Linked DNA regions of Homo sapiens: region 1 is linked to region 2. Evidence: promoter capture Hi-C in human tissues and cell types (Jung and others, 2019). All regions are on one chromosome and are shown on one strand. The core of a region is centred on a gene start or on the middle of the fragment in contact, and the rest is flanking DNA. Distances in the headings are between cores, read along the strand shown. Region 1 has its middle 3.7 kb from the start of NEDD4L. Region 2 holds the start of ATP8B1 (ATPase phospholipid transporting 8B1).

Region 1 (2,924 bases), core at 257-2,756, 240 kb before region 2:
TGCTGATAGAAAATTATAATTTCTAATTACACAGGACACGCCTTCCACATCCTGGAGGTACACAATTCCAGGCTTCGCCTTTGGGTAAGGCTATGTTATCTGGAAACTGTAGAGGGGTGTGGCAGTTTCTCTTCCTGTCTTTTATCATCTACTCCCACACACCCACCGCAACAGCCTATAGCCCTGCACTCAGGGTCATGTCCTTGTCTTTCCCTGAGGGATGGTTATTAGGAACTATAATATGAAACTTGCCATATGTCACTTATTGTGGGGTGTTTATAAAATCGTGATCCATGACATCAACATCCTCTGTGAGAAGACTAATAAACTAGACATTTATTTCAGATCTATGAAGAAAAGCTCTTTTGCTTTCAAGAAACTGGTAAGCTTTTGCATGGCAGATGACCAAAATTATTAAAACCGACTGTGTTTTTCTATCTACTTTGGCCACCAGGAAGCTCAGAACCAGTTTCATGGTCTTAAGCCATAAAAGAACCCATTAAAAAAAATCCCTTTTGTAACTATATACCAACTTTCCCCCAGTGCTGTGGTTCTCTACTCAGCATGTACATTGCAATCACCTGGGGAGCTTTCAAATAGACTAAGTGCCCGGTAACCAGCATCAGAGGCTATGATTTAATGGATTCTGACATCAGTAGTTTCAACAGCCTCCCAGGTGATGCTAATGTGCATTTAAGGCTGAGAACATCAGCTTAGTTTCCAAATTTTGCTATACATAGAAACATTTGGGAATTTTTACTACTGCTCCTCTCTGCCTCCCACTCCCAGGCGTTATGATTTAATTAGTACAGGGTGCCACATGGGCATCAGGAGCTTTAAAAGTTCCCCAGGTGATCCTAATGCACCACTGCCAAGTTTAGAGACATCTGGCCTAGATTTATATTACTATTCTTTTTTTTTTTCTTTTTCTTTTCCTTTTCCCCGAGAGACAAGTTCTTGCTCTGTTGTCCAGACTGGAGAACAGTGGCATGATCACAGCACACTGTACCCTCAAACTCCAGGACTCAAGTGATCCTCCCACCTCAGCCTCCCAAGTAGCTGGGACTACAGGAGCACACCATTGTACCGGCTAAGGTTTTTTGTTTTTTGTAGAGATGGGGTCTCCCTTGCCCAGGCTGGTCTCGAATTCTAGGCTTCAAGTGATCCTCCCACCTTGGCCTCCCAAAGTGTTAGGATTACAGGCATGAGCTACTGAGCCCAGCCTATATGCCTTTTCTTTATATATTTTCCACCACTCTGTTTTTTCATTCGTTTTTTTTCAACTTAGAGGAAATTGCATGTTATAAACACACTCAAATCTTTTGTGGAGTGAGGTAGAATATAAACAAACATACTTAGAAGACTAGCATCATCAATCAGTTTACCCATCATCTACTCTGAAGTCTCAGATTAGTAATCCAATTTCTTTTCTTTCTTTCTTTTTTTTTTTTTTTTTTTTTGAGATGGAGTCTCGCTCTGCTGCCCAGGCTGGAGTGCAGTGGCGTGATCTCGGCTCACTGCAAGCTCCGCCTCCTGGGTTCACGGCATTCTCCTGCCTCAGCCTCCCAAGCAGCTGGGACTACAGGCGCCCGCCACCACGCCCGGCTAATTTTTTGTATTTTTAGTAGAGACGGGGTTTCACCTTGTTAGTCAGGATGGTCTCGATCTCCTGACCTCGTGATCCACCTGCCTCGGCCTCCCAAAGTGCTGGGATTACAGACATGAGCCACCTAGCCCAACCTAGTAATCCAATTTCTTTGGGGGTGAGGGAGGACAACCCTTAAAGGGAACTATTCAGCAGGTGTATCAAAAGCAATGTTTCCTCCAGTCCGTTTTGCATCTACCCAACAATTACATAGAACCTTAACTTGTAGAGTCTCCTCTAGAATTCGTTTCCCTTTGTTCCCTTTGCAGGCTGCCTTTAGCATCTTAGATTTGATACTGTGGGTGTTTGGCAAATACTCTTCACTTGGATCATCAGAAATGAAAAATTAGCAGGAACAATTTTAAAGTACAATGGGTAATCACAAATAGGGAACATTTTAATGCTAAGCCTCTTTACAAATTATTGAGTTGTCTTAGCAAAACTATGTAGATCATAATCACATCTGGGAAGTACCCAAAGAAGAAGAATACATAATGTCACATGTTTAAGTTTCATATAAATAACACTCGATTTTTCTCTTCAATTTTCAGTGATGATTTGTCTTCTTTAAAAAGAAGGCCTATTAAGCAGACATTTCGAAGATGGCCACAAACCTGTAAAAACTGGTATCATCTTGGAACTCAGCACCATTCCTTGACACACAGAAATGTAACAAATTTAAGCCGTTTATGATCATATAAGAAATCTATATTATGCTTCAAATTTTTGACAAATATAGAGGTGGGTAGCAAAGAATGACTTGTAAATAGCTCATCTTTTTGTATAAAAATAGCTACATTAGGCCATTCTTGCAATGCTATTAATGAAGAAATGCCTGAGGCCAAGCACAGTGGCTCACACCTGTAATCCCAACACTTTGGGAGGCTGAAGTGGACAGATCCCTTGAGTCCAGGAGTTCGAGACCAGCTGGGCAACAAAGTGAGACCTCATCTCTAAAAACAAAAAATACAAGAATTCGCTGGGCCTGGTGGCTTGCGCCTGTAGTCTCAGCTACTCAAGGAGCTGAGGCAGGAGGGTCCCTTGAGCCTGGGAGGTTGAGGCTGAGGTGTGCCGAGATCACACCACTGCACTCCAGTCTGGGCAAAAGAGCCAGACCCTGAAAAAAGAAAGAAAGAGAAAGAAAGGAAGAAAGAAAGGAAAGAAAGAAAAGAAACACCTGAGGCTGGGTAATTTATAAAGAAAAGAGGTTTAATGGGCTCACGGTTCTGTGGGCTGTACAGGAAGCATGGTGCTGGCATTTGCTTCTGGGGAGGCCTCA
Region 2 (2,819 bases), core at 123-2,622:
TATCTCCCTATTATTTTCCCTAAAACACAACCTTGATCATGCTCATGCTCGGTCCTAAATTGTCAACGGTTTGCAGGTGCTACCAAAAACAAGTCTAAATGTCTTAGATCAACCAGTGTCACCAACAGGCCCTATGTTCTCTTGCATCGGTACCTTTGTTCTGTCGTTAGCTTCAGAATATAAGTGCTGGAAGAGACCATCTGGTCCAATCTCATTTTACAAATGAGGAAACTGAGGCCTGGATAGATTGAGTGACTGACCAGCACCTAGTCAGAGATCAAGTTTGACTCATGAAAAAGAAGCCTAGAGCAGCCTCGGGGTTGGTATCAGACAAGATTCTACCAGTTGGCCACCCGTTGAATACCCTCTCTACACAACTCTGATCCTTAAAGCTGTGGATCTTTGAGTCCCATCAAGCACGGCCTCCTGTAGGAAGCCTCTGTGATGACCCAGTTGGGAGTCTGGACTCTTGGGCATAGATGTGAGCCTCTAGGTGACTGGGAATCGTGTGGGAGTCCTGGCTCCCCTACTGCATTTTAAGCAAACTCTGATCTTTGATTTTCCTCCATTCTTATCCCAACGACTCGGTCCATAGTCGGGGAGCGGCAAAAGTCTACTCAAGAAGGAGGGTAATGTCTATACTGCCAGGGAGGCACGATTCACCCGCTCAGACACCAGCCAGCAACGAGGCGCTGAGTCCAAAATTTCCACCTACACCGCGTGGTTCACGGGCCGCACCTTAACTCCTTTTGACTCCAAACCCAAAAAAACTCGATAGCGTTTGGACTCGGCAGAAAGCCTGCTGGCTGCAATCACAGGATACGTTTCTGGAAGTCTTGAGGCGCAGCCTCTTTCTTCACCCTCCACGCGGCGAACTTTGACGCGCATTCGGTGACCGGTCCCCAAACATGACTTGGCATCAAGAGGACACAGCTCCCCTTACCGAGGGAGCTCAGGTCCCGGGCGCGCCGCGGCCCCGCCAGCTTTCCAGGCTGGCTCAGTCCTCGACCCGGGGTGACGGCCAAGCCAGCCAAGGGCAGCGGGAAAGTGACGCTGGGCTGGAGAGGTGTGGTGGCGAGTGCGGCCCCCGGGGAGCTAAGAGCAGCCGCAGCAACTGGGTCTCAGGCTGGGCGAGGCAAGGGCTCGTAGGCTGGGCTCGGAAGACTGAAAGGGGTGCCCACCTGACTCCAGGACGCACGGAGGGCGTGGGGCAGGAGCTGGACCTGGGCCGCCTCGGGCCGCCCCGGGGCTTGCAGTCCAGCCCCTCTCCGCCCTAGGGAGGGAAAAAGGGAGGGGAGAAGGCCGAGCCCGCCTCCAGCCCCAGCCCCAGCCCCAGCGAGGCTCGGCGGCCGCGGCTGCTGGAGGGAAACCAGAGGCACCTCCCCGAGCGGAGAAACCAGTTTGGCCGGTCCGGCGGAGCGGAGGCAAAAGGGCGGCTGCAGAGGAAGGGTGCACGGACGCGGGGCGGGGAAAGGCGGGGGAGCCACTAGCGAGCCGCGAGAGCCGGAGGTGCCGCCGCCAACTAGACACGCTTCCCCGGGCCCCCGGCCAGCCCCCGTGCGCCATGCAGCGCTAGCGCGGCGGCCAGGGCTGGGGCCGGGCGGGCGGCGGCAGCGGCCAGGTGCGCAGCGAGCGCTCCGAGCGGCGCGCACCAGGCGGATGCCCCAGCCGGGGCCCAGCGAACGCCAGGTAAGCAGGGGTGCGGCGCCGGGGGCCCCCAGACCTTCCCAAGCCCCTTGGCCCGGCGGTGTCCTGCAGGTTCCCTGGCCGCTCCCGCCGCACTTTGGAGATCCGGGATGCGGCGGCAGCAGCTGTCAGCGCCCTCGGACTCCCGAGCCCGCACAGGTGGGATTTGGGTGGAGGTGCTGGGAGCCCCCGAGGCCTCGGGGACGGCGAGACACGGCCGGCTGGGCAGGCAGCGCTGCGGAGAGTTCCGTGGGGTTTTCACCTGCCTAGAGGAGGGAAATCTCGGGGTGTTTGGGTTCTTCGATCGGTAGCGACACACATGTCCGGGGGTTAAGCCAGGTAGGGCTTGCGGCTCCTTGGGGGATGCCGCTGGCTCCTGTGCGGTGGCTACCGCCCCTCTGGAAGACCCCGGTGACCGGGTCCTGCTGGGGCGCTCTTTGGGAGCAGATGCCAACGTGTCCGAAAAGGACTTGCGGGCCAAACGTATCTGACCGCGGCCCACCTGCCGGGAGGGATGGAGGGGGTGAGATCGCTCTCCTCCCCAGCTCCTGTGGCAGGGCCAGGTACTCCCAGACATCTTCCGTGCGCTTTATTGTGGGATGGGGAGGGGAGGTGATGGGGAAGACCGACACCACTGTTTTTCCGGTGACTGTCGGGTCGCGTCCGCCAGCCCCGCTGAGATGGCTGCAGGCATCTCCTTCCCTCAGCAGTTTGGTGCCCTGCGCTGTCACCTCGCTGTGTGCACGAGGAGGGGCAACTTGTTGGGGGGCGCGGGGAGATGTTGCAGAGAATGGCCCAGTGCTTTAACACCCCTCGCCCCCACTTCTCCAACTCCCTCCTTCTCCCCAAAGTGAAAGAAAAGTTCTGAAGTGTCTGCCCAACTTTTCCGACGGAGGCGTGTGCCTGTGGTCCCTGCCGGGGGTTGGTGGCTGGTTGCGGGGGGGGGCGGTGCTCGGAGCGCAGATCCGTGACGGTTGTACGGGGGAGACTGGATTGCAGTAAGGATGCAAATTGGGGAAGGGGGATTGACACGCAGAAGTAAGGAGGACTTGGGCCGCGCTTCTGCCCGGTGAGTACCCGCTCAACCCTACCCGACCCCCTTGGCCTGCACGCGCTGCCCTTGGGGGCTGCAA

Evidence for each region. Contacts are between HindIII fragments. The study calls those that stand out against the background at their distance.
Region 1: a contact is called between a fragment that was not itself captured here and the fragment with the promoter of ATP8B1 in region 2, in 1 of the 25 tissues and cell types used here (IMR-90 fibroblasts).

The regions. Positions count from the first base shown.
Region 1 is chr18:58,039,062-58,041,985 of GRCh38, reverse strand. No RefSeq gene overlaps it. Among named protein-coding and RNA genes, the nearest start is that of NEDD4L, 3.7 kb to the left of the region's middle. RefSeq lists a cis regulatory region at 1-367. The HindIII fragment of the contact is 4,161 bases long and covers 1-2,924 here.
Region 2 is chr18:57,801,868-57,804,686 of GRCh38, reverse strand. It overlaps ATP8B1 (ATPase phospholipid transporting 8B1), which reads left to right and starts at 1,372. Exons shown (of 28, transcript NM_001374385.1): 1 at 1,372-1,689. RefSeq lists an enhancer at 1,115-1,752. The HindIII fragment of the contact is 14,543 bases long and covers 1-2,819 here.